2 separate regions of the Homo sapiens genome follow, and region 1 is linked to region 2. Evidence: promoter capture Hi-C in 16 types of primary human blood cells and fetal thymus (Javierre and others, 2016). All regions are on one chromosome and are shown on one strand. The core of a region is centred on a gene start or on the middle of the fragment in contact, and the rest is flanking DNA. Distances in the headings are between cores, read along the strand shown. Region 1 overlaps FOS (Fos proto-oncogene, AP-1 transcription factor subunit). Region 2 holds the start of IRF2BPL (interferon regulatory factor 2 binding protein like).

Region 1 (6,502 bases), core at 2,257-4,756, 1.7 Mb before region 2:
GGTTTCACAGTGGGGTGCCAGGAAGCAGGGAAGCTGCAGGAGCCAGTTCTACTGGGGTGGGTGAATGGAGGTGATGGCAGACACTTTTACTGAATGTCGGTCTTTTTTTGTGATTATTCTAGTTATCTCCAGAAGAAGAAGAGAAAAGGAGAATCCGAAGGGAAAGGAATAAGATGGCTGCAGCCAAATGCCGCAACCGGAGGAGGGAGCTGACTGATACACTCCAAGCGGTAGGTACTCTGTGGGTTGCTCCTTTTTAAAACTTAAGGGGAAAGTTGGAGATTGAGCATAAGGGCCCTTGAGTAAGACTGTGTCTTATGCTTTCCTTTATCCCTCTGTATACAGGAGACAGACCAACTAGAAGATGAGAAGTCTGCTTTGCAGACCGAGATTGCCAACCTGCTGAAGGAGAAGGAAAAACTAGAGTTCATCCTGGCAGCTCACCGACCTGCCTGCAAGATCCCTGATGACCTGGGCTTCCCAGAAGAGATGTCTGTGGCTTCCCTTGATCTGACTGGGGGCCTGCCAGAGGTTGCCACCCCGGAGTCTGAGGAGGCCTTCACCCTGCCTCTCCTCAATGACCCTGAGCCCAAGCCCTCAGTGGAACCTGTCAAGAGCATCAGCAGCATGGAGCTGAAGACCGAGCCCTTTGATGACTTCCTGTTCCCAGCATCATCCAGGCCCAGTGGCTCTGAGACAGCCCGCTCCGTGCCAGACATGGACCTATCTGGGTCCTTCTATGCAGCAGACTGGGAGCCTCTGCACAGTGGCTCCCTGGGGATGGGGCCCATGGCCACAGAGCTGGAGCCCCTGTGCACTCCGGTGGTCACCTGTACTCCCAGCTGCACTGCTTACACGTCTTCCTTCGTCTTCACCTACCCCGAGGCTGACTCCTTCCCCAGCTGTGCAGCTGCCCACCGCAAGGGCAGCAGCAGCAATGAGCCTTCCTCTGACTCGCTCAGCTCACCCACGCTGCTGGCCCTGTGAGGGGGCAGGGAAGGGGAGGCAGCCGGCACCCACAAGTGCCACTGCCCGAGCTGGTGCATTACAGAGAGGAGAAACACATCTTCCCTAGAGGGTTCCTGTAGACCTAGGGAGGACCTTATCTGTGCGTGAAACACACCAGGCTGTGGGCCTCAAGGACTTGAAAGCATCCATGTGTGGACTCAAGTCCTTACCTCTTCCGGAGATGTAGCAAAACGCATGGAGTGTGTATTGTTCCCAGTGACACTTCAGAGAGCTGGTAGTTAGTAGCATGTTGAGCCAGGCCTGGGTCTGTGTCTCTTTTCTCTTTCTCCTTAGTCTTCTCATAGCATTAACTAATCTATTGGGTTCATTATTGGAATTAACCTGGTGCTGGATATTTTCAAATTGTATCTAGTGCAGCTGATTTTAACAATAACTACTGTGTTCCTGGCAATAGTGTGTTCTGATTAGAAATGACCAATATTATACTAAGAAAAGATACGACTTTATTTTCTGGTAGATAGAAATAAATAGCTATATCCATGTACTGTAGTTTTTCTTCAACATCAATGTTCATTGTAATGTTACTGATCATGCATTGTTGAGGTGGTCTGAATGTTCTGACATTAACAGTTTTCCATGAAAACGTTTTATTGTGTTTTTAATTTATTTATTAAGATGGATTCTCAGATATTTATATTTTTATTTTATTTTTTTCTACCTTGAGGTCTTTTGACATGTGGAAAGTGAATTTGAATGAAAAATTTAAGCATTGTTTGCTTATTGTTCCAAGACATTGTCAATAAAAGCATTTAAGTTGAATGCGACCAACCTTGTGCTCTTTTCATTCTGGAAGTCTTGTAAGTTTCTGAAAGGTATTATTGGAGACCAGTTTGTCAAGAAGGGTAGCTGCTGGAGGGGGACACACCCTCTGTCTGATCCCTTATCAAAGAGGACAAGGAAACTATAGAGCTGATTTTAGAATATTTTACAAATACATGCCTTCCATTGGAATGCTAAGATTTTCTACTGCTTCTGGGGACGGGAAACCGCTGTGTAACAGCTTTTGTGGGAATACATTTTTTCTGTTTCAGTACTCGCAGGGGGAAATATTTAAATTTTGTTGTGCTAATATTAAATTCAGATGTTTTGATCTTAAAGGAACCCTTTAAGCAAACAGAACCTAGCTTTGTACAGACTATTTTAACTTTTTATTCTCACAAAATCACGTGGAGGGTTATTCTACTTCAAAGATGAGCAAATTGAAGAATGGTTAGAATAAACAACTTTCTTGATATTCCGTTATCGGCATTAGAATCTTCCTGCTCGTTATCGTATCCAGCAGGCTGAACTGCCTCTTGATACTTGGTTAAAAAAAATTTTCAGGCCGGGCGCGGTGGCCCATGCCTGTAATCCTAGCACTTTGGGAGGCCGAGGCAGGCGGATCACCTGAGGTCGGGAGTTCGAGACCAGCCTGACCAACATGGAGAAACCCCGTCTTTACTAAAAATACAAAATTAGCCTGGTGTGGTGGTGCATGCCTGTAATCCTAGCTACTTGAGAGGCTGAGACAGGAAAATCACTTGAACTCGGGAGGCGGATGTTGCAGCGAACTGAGATTGCGCCATTGCACTCCAGCCTGGGCAACAAGATTGAAACTCTGTTTAAAAAAAAAAGTTTTCACTAATGTGTACATTTTTTTGTACTCTTTTATTCTCGAAAGGGAAGGAGGGCTATTGCCCTATCCCTTATTAATAAATGCATTGTGGTTTCTGGTTTCTCTAATACCATATGCCCTTCATTCAGTTTATAGTGGGCGGAAGTGGGGGAGAAAAAGTTGCTCAGAAATCAAAAGATATCTCAAACAGCACAAATAATGGCTGATCGTTCTGCAAACAAAAAGTTACATAATAGCTCAAGAAGGAGAAGTCAACATGACTCTGAACAAGCTTTAACTTAGAAACTTTATCATCTTAAGGAAGAACGTGACCTTTGTCCGGGACGTCTCTGGTAATGGGGCACTTACACACACATGCACACGTACAAACCACAGGGAAAGGAGACCGCCCTTCTGCCTCTGCTCGCGAGTATCATGCAGGCACCATGCACTATGTTTTCACACACACTGGGTGGAAGAAGAGCTTCAGCGCCAGTCTTCTAATGCTTTGGTGATAATGAAAATCACTGGGTGCTTATGGGGTGTCATATTCAACCGAGTTAAAAGTTTTAATTCAAAATGACAGTTTTACTGAGGTTGATGTTCTCGTCTATGATATCTCTGCCCCTCCCATAAAAATGGACATTTAAAAGCAACTTACCGCTCTTTAGATCACTCCTATATCACACACCACTTGGGGTGCTGTTTCTGCTAGACTTGTGATGACAGTGGCCTTAGGATCCCTGTTTGCTGTTCAAAGGGCAAATATTTTATAGCCTTTAAATATACCTAAACTAAATACAGAATTAATATAACTAACAAACACCTGGTCTGAAATAACAAGGTGATCTACCCTGTAAGGAACCCAGCTGGTGGGCCAGGAGCGGTGGCTCACACCTGTAATTCCAGCACTTTGGGAGGCTGAGACAGGAGGATCACTGGAGTCCAGGAGTTTGAGACCAGCCTGGGCAACATGGCAAAACCCAGTGTGCTTCTGTTGTCCCAGCTACACTACTCAGGAGGCTGAGGCAGGAGTATGACTTGAGCCTGGGAGGGGGAGGTTGCAGAGAACTGATATTGCACCACCACTGCACTCCAGCCTGGGTGACACAGCAAAACCCTATCTCAAAAAAAAAAAAAAAAAAAAAAAGGAACCCAGCTGGTTCCTGTAGGTGTGCAATAATAACAACCAGAGGAAGAAAAGGAAGACGATTTCCCAGATGAAGAAGGGCAGCTGGACCTTCGGACATTGACCTGCTCCTGGGGACCTCAATCATGGTCCCTGTCAGCCCCATGCTTACTCTAGAGGGTGAGCATTGCTTTCCCTTTGACAGCCCTGGCCAAGGCCCAGACACAGACCCTTGCTCTAGCTTATTGCACAGCCCAGTGGAGACCAGGCTGCTACATCAAGATGGCGTTAAAGGTCCAGAAAGAGGAAATCAGAGACCATCGGATCCCCAGGGTTGACATCCCACCAAGCTTCCTGCTGACCACTTTCATGGGCTTGAGAGAAGAAATTCCTTCCTCCTTTCTCCAGCTAAATGGCTCCTTCCAAATCCCTTTTACTCACTCAGGACTGGACAACTCTCAGGGATTATTAACTCTGGGAAATTTTTTGTTTTTGTTTTTTGTTTATTTTTTTTGTTTTTTAGGCAGGGTCTCGCTCTGCTGCCATCTCGGCTCACTTCAACCTCCGCCTCCCGGCTTCAAGTGATTCTCCTGCCTCAGCCTCCTGAGTAGCTGGAATTACAGGCAACTGCCACCACTCCTGGCTAATTTTTGTATTTTTAGTAGAGACAGGGTTTCACCATGTTGGCCAGGCTGGCCTCGAACTCCTGACCTCAAGTGATCCCCCCAACCTTGGTCCCCAAAGTGCTGGGATTACAGATGTGAGCCACCATACCTGGCCTTCAACTTTCTTTTGAAAAAGACTTTGTCGGATTCCTACCCACAAGCTATGGCCTCATGCTAATCTCAATAAAACAACTACCTGCCAGGCGCGGTGGCTCACACCTGTAATCCCAACACTTTGGGAGGCCAAGGTGGGTGGATCGCCTGAGGTCAGGAGTTCGAAACCAGCCTGGCCAACATAGTGAAACCCCGTCTTTACTAAAAATACAAAAAAATTAGCTGGGTGTGGTGGCGGGCACCTGTAATCCCAGCTACTCGGGAGGCTGAGGTAGGAGAATGGCATGAACCTGGGAGGCGGAGCTTGCAGTGAGCTGAGATCATGCCATTGCACTCCAGCCTGGGTGACAAGCGTGAAACTCTGTCTCAAAAAAACAAAAAACAAACAAAAAAGAAAACAACTACCAGAGGGCACCACTATTCAACATTGCTAAAGACATATACATATAATTGAAGGGGATAGAGGCAGAAGTCATTTCCTCATGGGGATTATGTCCAGTTTAGCTCACCAGGATCCCCAGAACTGGCTCAGTGCCTGGCACATGGTACAAGGTTAATTAATATTTTGCCCAGTGGATGAATAAATTCTGTGCTATTTCCATACACAGAAATATATTCCACACATATTCTTTAACTTCTCCTCTCCTGGTCCCTGTTAGTATATTAAGCAATGGGAATTTTACATCTTTTATGTCTGGCTGCAAAAATATACCCCATTCCCATCCTTGCCTCCTGGAATTCCTTCACTGTCTTCCTGGATGACCTCTGCCAATTCAACTTCAAAGCTGCCATTGGGCTTCTGGCTCCAAATTAATTTTCAATGGGAAGAGGGAAGAGGAAAAATATTTATCTCTGTAGAATAGTGGATTGTAGATTCTGCATCATCTTTGCACATCACTGCATCTTGTGTAATTATCAAAATTAAAGGGTAGGATTTAACAATTTGTTCTAATAACAGTAATTTTGTATCAACAGCAATTCCCATGTGTGAATGAAAGTAAATCAATTATGCTATCTTTAATTAACGGACAAAAAAAAATTGAGGCACAGTAAAAGTTCTCAGTTGATTATCTTGAGGTAATCGTCTAAAGTTTCAATGTTTTTACAGTTGAAAAAAAGCTAAAACAAAATTGATCTCTAAATGGTGTATGAGACTCATTCCAAACAGAGTAACCAAACTCCTCAAAAAAAAAAAAAAAAAAAAAAAAAGAGATATGAGCCTCACTTGAATGCTGAATAGCAGAATGCTTTAAATTGTGCTGTTTTCCTATTAATATTAAAGAGTTGACTTTTAGGAAGTCTCACTCAGGGTCCCCTGTCTCTCTACTGAAGAGAGAGTTATTCTCCTTTCTCTTTCTTTTGCTTATTAAACCTCTACTCCTAAACACCACCCCTCCACCAAAAAAAAAAAAAAAAGTTGACTTTTAATTCCTCTCCCACTCTATCTCTTTTCCTTCTTCCCTACAGGCACTCTGCTCACGAGCCTTCCTTCCACTCCTGGCACATAGAACACGTACTCCTGCAGCAGGGCCTCTGCACTTGCAGTCCCTCTGCCGGGGCCTCTTGCCCCAGGCTGGCGGCATCCTGTCATTTGGGACTCTGCTCAAAGGACATGTCCTCCAAGGGGCTTTCCCTGGTCATTCTATCTAGGGTGACTTCGGGACATACTTGCTCCCTAGGACTCTCTATTTAGTTATCCTGCTTTGTTTTTTCACAGCCTGTATCCCTACTTGCAATATCTAATTTATGTGTTATTTTCCTTTTAAAAAATTGTCTGTCTCATCGGGTGCAGTAGCTCACGCCTGTAATCCCAGCACTTTGGGAGACCTAGGTGGGCGGATTACCTGAGGTCAAGAGTTCGAGACCAGCCTGGCCAACATGGCAAAACCCTGTCTCTACTAAAAATGCAAAAATTAGCTGGGGGTGGGTGGTGTGCACCTGTAATCCCAGCTACTCAGGAGGCTTAGGCAG
Region 2 (4,691 bases), core at 1-2,500:
TGCTGCTGCTGCTGTTGCTGTTGCTGTTGCGCGGCGGCGGCGGCGGCCGCCGCTGCTGCCGCCGCCGCCGCCGCTTCCTTAGCCGACAGGGCCACTGTCTTGACCCCGACGGGCGGCGGCGGCCCGGGGGAGCGGCCGTCCTGGAAGCAGCCGTGCGCCCGCTTCAGCTGGCGCGCTGTCTCGATCACGAATTCGATGCGATCAGCGCCCTCGTAGTTGACGCAACCGCGGCATACGGGTTCCGAGAAGTCCCAGATCATGGCCCAGGGCATGCGGGGCAGGTCGCACAGGTAGCAAGATTGTCTCCGGGACGAGGACACCTGCGCCGCCGACATGATGCCTGCCCTGGGGAAGGTAGGCCCCCGCCCGGGCTGTCTCCGCGGCGCCTTCTCCTCCGGGAGGACTGGCCGGCTGGGGAGGGAGTCCGACTGCGGGGGAGGGAGGAGGGGGGGCGAGAAAGTTCTGCCCCAGGGGCTGGAGGGAACGCGAGTCTCCACCGCCGGCGCAGCGCCTCGCCGTGGGGGCTCCACCGCCCGGGCAGCGGACGGGTTCAGCCCTCTCTTCGCCCCCACCTCCTACTGCGGTTGACTCGTCGCGAGGGGAGCTCAGGCGCCTTCTTCCTGGTGCTGCAGACTTGGGCTGGAAGCTCCCGGCCCGAGGGGAGGGGGCGAGGGTGCCCGGTGGTGGCCGCCGTTGCCTCTTGGCCCCCTCCCCGGAGTGGCTGGTGCGTGGAAGCTCGAAAGGGGCTGTCTCTTCCTCTCCCCGGGGACCCCCCTACGAGCTGCGTCCTCTCCCCGACGGGCCCCCTGGGGCGAGGGCCAGAGGGTTCAGTGCCACCCGGTGCCCGGGTCCAATCTTGCTGAAGCCGCTGCTTCCCCGGAGGACCGGGGGAGGGGGTGGCAGCCGAGAAAGGACCTTCTCCCCTCCGCAGCGTCGGCCGTTCTGCTGGCGGCGACTGGGTTTGCACCCCGGAGGGAGCCGCCGCGGCCACTGCTTCCAGGACGCACGAGAGCAGAGGAGAGGAGTGCACGCACGCAGGCTCCCGCCGCCCCCAGGCCTGGCCGGCGCCCGGGCCGCCGCGGCTGGCGGCGCTCACGTTGGCTGCAGGGCGCTCGCGCGGCGCCTCGGCCCGGGTCGCATCCCTTCCCGCTCGTGCTCACGCTCGCCCGGAATGTGGGGTTGTGATTGTTACTCTACGTTCCGGAGGCGCGTCTCGGCGCTCCTGCTCCGGCTGCGGCTCGCGCTGTCCCCGGCTTGGCCGCGCGGGATGCCGCCCGGGCGGAGCGCTGACGTCACCGCCATGCTCTGCACCAGTTCTTCCCCCTCCCCTTTACACTTCCTCTGTGGAGCCCACTTGTTGCTCAGGCAAGGCGCATGCGCGGCAGGACGCCCAGATTCCTCCCAGCCGGCCCCTCCTCCGCGCCTCCGCCCTCCCCTCCCCCCTCGCCGTGTGTGTACAACAGCTGAGGCCCGGCGAGCTAATGCTGGAAGTCCAGAGCTGGGGGTGGAAATTAAACAGACGATGACCTTTCCTTTCCCTGCCGGGCATTCCCAAGTAAAAACGCATTTAAGAACCACTAGCGTCGTTTCCGATCCCTGCTCCCCACCCCACCCCCAAGCCTCGGCAGTGAATTTAAATGTCCTGTTTCAGGATTTTTCGCCGTGAATTTCGTATAAGGTATTAACCATTTCATCTGCGGTTGAACCTTATCCCCCCCGGCATGGATGTTAAATTCATCGCCACCACTGATGCCGAAGCACCTGCAAAATTAGCTGTTTTCCAATCTTCCAGAAATTGTCTTTTCTATTTGTTTTTGTGCCCTGATCTAGGAACCCGGGCTTCAACGATAGAGCTAAATGAATTCAGAGTGCGCTACCCTTCCCCCCAGCCGCACTTTAAAAATTTTGGCTGAACGTCTGAAGAAGATACGAGCACCCCGAGGCCTTTAAGGAAAACAGGCAACTGGCTGCGCACAGCTGCAGTTCAGGGCAGGGAGGGGGAGGGGCCGGAGAGGCCAAACAGGTGAGTGTTTTTTCTAGAGTTTGATTTTTAAAAGGTGGAGGCAGCATTTAATAATACTGATACATTTTTGTAAAGCACAGCCGCAGTTTTCAAAGTTCTTTCTCAGGCGCTGTGATCTCACTCCATGTTGCCCCAGAAGGCGGAACAAGGCCGTGATTTTTTTTTTTTTTTTTTTTTAAGACGGAGTCTTGCTCTGTCGCCCAGGCTGGAGTGCAAAATGGCGCGATCTCGGCTCACTGCAACCTCTGCCTCGCAGGTTCAAGCGATTCTTCCGCCTCAGCCTCCCAAGTAGCTGTGATTACCGGCACCCGCCATCAGGCCCAGCTAATTTTTTGTATTTTTGTAGAGACATGGTTTCACCATGTTAGCCAGCTGGTCTTGAACTCCTGACCTCAGGTGATCCTCCCGCCTCGGCCTTCCAAAGTGCTGGGATTACAAGCATGAACCACCACGCCCGGCCAAGGCCGTGATTTCTTCTGCCTTACAAGATCACTGCTCATCAGTATTGCTTATGGCACGATGGATATGTTGGTCATAGCTCTAGTTGGGGCATTTCTATTGATTATTCTAATTATTGGGTTTGCTTTTTTTTTTTTTTTTATTTCATGAAAACTGAGATAATCCCAGGGAAGGCTGGAGAAGGGAAAGCAATATAATGGGATTTCGGATTCTGAAGTGTGGCCCACCAGATTGAAATTTCCTCTCCATCACTAACTGGCTCTCCACCCTTAAGCTAGTTACCCACAAAATCTCTCTTTTCCATGGAAAAGAGAATGGAATGATAGCTCCCAGGTTGTTAGGGTTGTTTGAGATTTCAACTTCGGTTTTTTGTTTTTTTGAGATAGGATCTTGTTCTGTTGCCCAGGCTGGAGTGCAGTGGCACACTCGCGGCTGGCAGCAGCCTGACCTCCCAGGCTCAAGTAATCCTCCCACCTCAGCCTCCCTAGTAGCTGGGACTACAGGCATGTGCCATTACACCTGGCCAATTTTTTTGTATTTTTGGAAAGGGATGGGGTTTTGCCGTGTTGCCCAGGCTGGTCTCAAACTCCTGGGCCCAAGTGATGCACCCACCTTGGCCTCCCAAAGTGTTGGGATTACAGGCATGAGCCACCTCACCCGGCCTCAATTTGTTTCTTGTCATAAGAAGAGATAACGCTTACTTAGACTTGCCGTGGGACCTTAGTAAACTAGGTGGCTTTACTTGCATCACCCTTAATATTATCTACATTATTAAGGGGATATTATCTATAGTATTTTGTTGTTGTTTTGAGACAGAGTCCACTCTGTCACCCAGGCTGGAGTACAGTGACGCAATCTCAGCTCACTGCAACCTCCACCTCCCAGGTTCAAGCAATTCTCCTGCCTCAGTCTCCCAAGTACCTGGGGATACAGGCGCCCGCCACCACACCCAGCTCATTTTTGTATTTTTAGTAGAGACGGACTTTCACCATGTTGGCCAGGCTGGTCTCGAACTCCTGACCTCAGGTGATCCTCCCGCCTCAGCCTCCCAAAGTGCTGGGATTACAGGCATGACCCACCGTGACCGGCCTATTACAGTATTAAACCCTTAATATTATCTACAGGGTAGATTCTTTTACCTCCATTTTACAAACCAGGAAAGTAAAGAGGCTATATAACTTGCCTACAGCCATTAGTGATGGGGCTGGGATTTGAATCCAGTAAATCTGATTTGAGGTGTCTTTGACAAGCTCAGGCTTGCAGAGGTGGTTTGGGGTGCTCAAAATTCCCATCAGCCCCAGTTGATTTGGTGTTACATACAATCTTACGTAAGTACTATGCCAATACACCTTCATAACCAACCCCCAGCCTCCCCTTCCAAGCGCATTTGTACCACTGAGTTCTATATACAGAAGTTGTAGATCTGTCACTACCAGACTGTAACTTAAATACACCATACAGAATGGAGAGCAGTGTTGGACTCACAGTTAGTGTTAGTTATTATTAGTATTGATACTAGTGTTGGTACTATTGCTGGTTGACATGTGACAGTACTTAGTAAACTGCATAAATTGTGAGGATCACTATTATCACTCTTATTACTAGTAATTGCAATAAAGTTCAGTGGAAGCAACAAGAGATACTTACTTTTATTTTGACACTTGACTTCCAGAGCCTGTTCCCCTATCCAACCCTCCCCAGAGCCCCAATCTCCCACTCATTCTGGGGCCCCTGAGTGCAAAGGAAAGGCGAGTTTTTAAGGACAGAAGAGGAGGAGGAGCCCTAGGGAGCCCCTCTTTCATCTCAAAGCAGCCAGATTTCTGTTTTTGCAAAACAGTGAGCTCACTGTGCACTCTAGAGCAATAATAAACTTTCTCTGGCCTGCTGGCACTTTGCAGTGATTCCTCTGCAAAGAGTTGCTTGGGGAGCATTGCCTCACTCTCCCAGACTTCAGCCCTCCCCACACTACCGCTACCCTGGAGTGAGTCAAAACATAGGGGTGGGAAATGGTTTGACATCCCCGCCAGCCTGGGGCTCCTTAGCTTTGGCTCGGTTGGGTGACCCATTTCTTTACATTAATATTTATTCAGCCCTTCCCTTTATTAAACCAAAAATATTAGGGAAATAGCAACTTAGCCACAACCCTCCAGCCAGGCTGCTAGAGAAAGCAAGTTGGATTCTATGTCATGGTGTTATGTTTGGTATGCAC

The links. The method cuts DNA at HindIII sites, captures the fragments that hold promoters and counts their contacts. A CHiCAGO score of 5 or more calls a contact.
Region 1: a contact is called between a fragment that was not itself captured here and the fragment with the promoter of IRF2BPL in region 2, in 1 of 17 cell types (M0 macrophages). The highest score is 6.7, in M0 macrophages.

The regions. Positions count from the first base shown.
Region 1 is chr14:75,280,438-75,286,939 of GRCh38, forward strand. It overlaps FOS (Fos proto-oncogene, AP-1 transcription factor subunit), which reads left to right. Exons shown (of 4, transcript NM_005252.4): 3 at 123-230; 4 at 346-1,793. The coding sequence ends at 987. Among named protein-coding and RNA genes, the nearest start is that of FOS, 4.9 kb to the left of the region's middle. RefSeq lists enhancers at 1-234, 261-820, 821-1,380. The HindIII fragment of the contact is 1,187 bases long and covers 2,914-4,100 here.
Region 2 is chr14:77,027,458-77,032,148 of GRCh38, forward strand. It overlaps IRF2BPL (interferon regulatory factor 2 binding protein like), which reads right to left and starts at 1,251. Exons shown (of 1, transcript NM_024496.4): 1 at 1-1,251. The coding sequence starts at 335. LOC107984638 (a long non-coding RNA gene) reads left to right here and starts at 11. Exons shown (of 4, transcript NR_190002.1): 1 at 11-354; 2 at 1,831-2,023; 3 at 2,204-2,279; 4 at 2,370-4,115. LOC105370579 (a long non-coding RNA gene) reads right to left here. Exons shown (of 2, transcript NR_169510.1): 2 at 4,102-4,691. RefSeq lists silencers at 381-880, 1,001-1,210, 1,411-1,540 and an enhancer at 2,304-2,824. The HindIII fragment of the contact is 11,624 bases long and covers 1-4,691 here.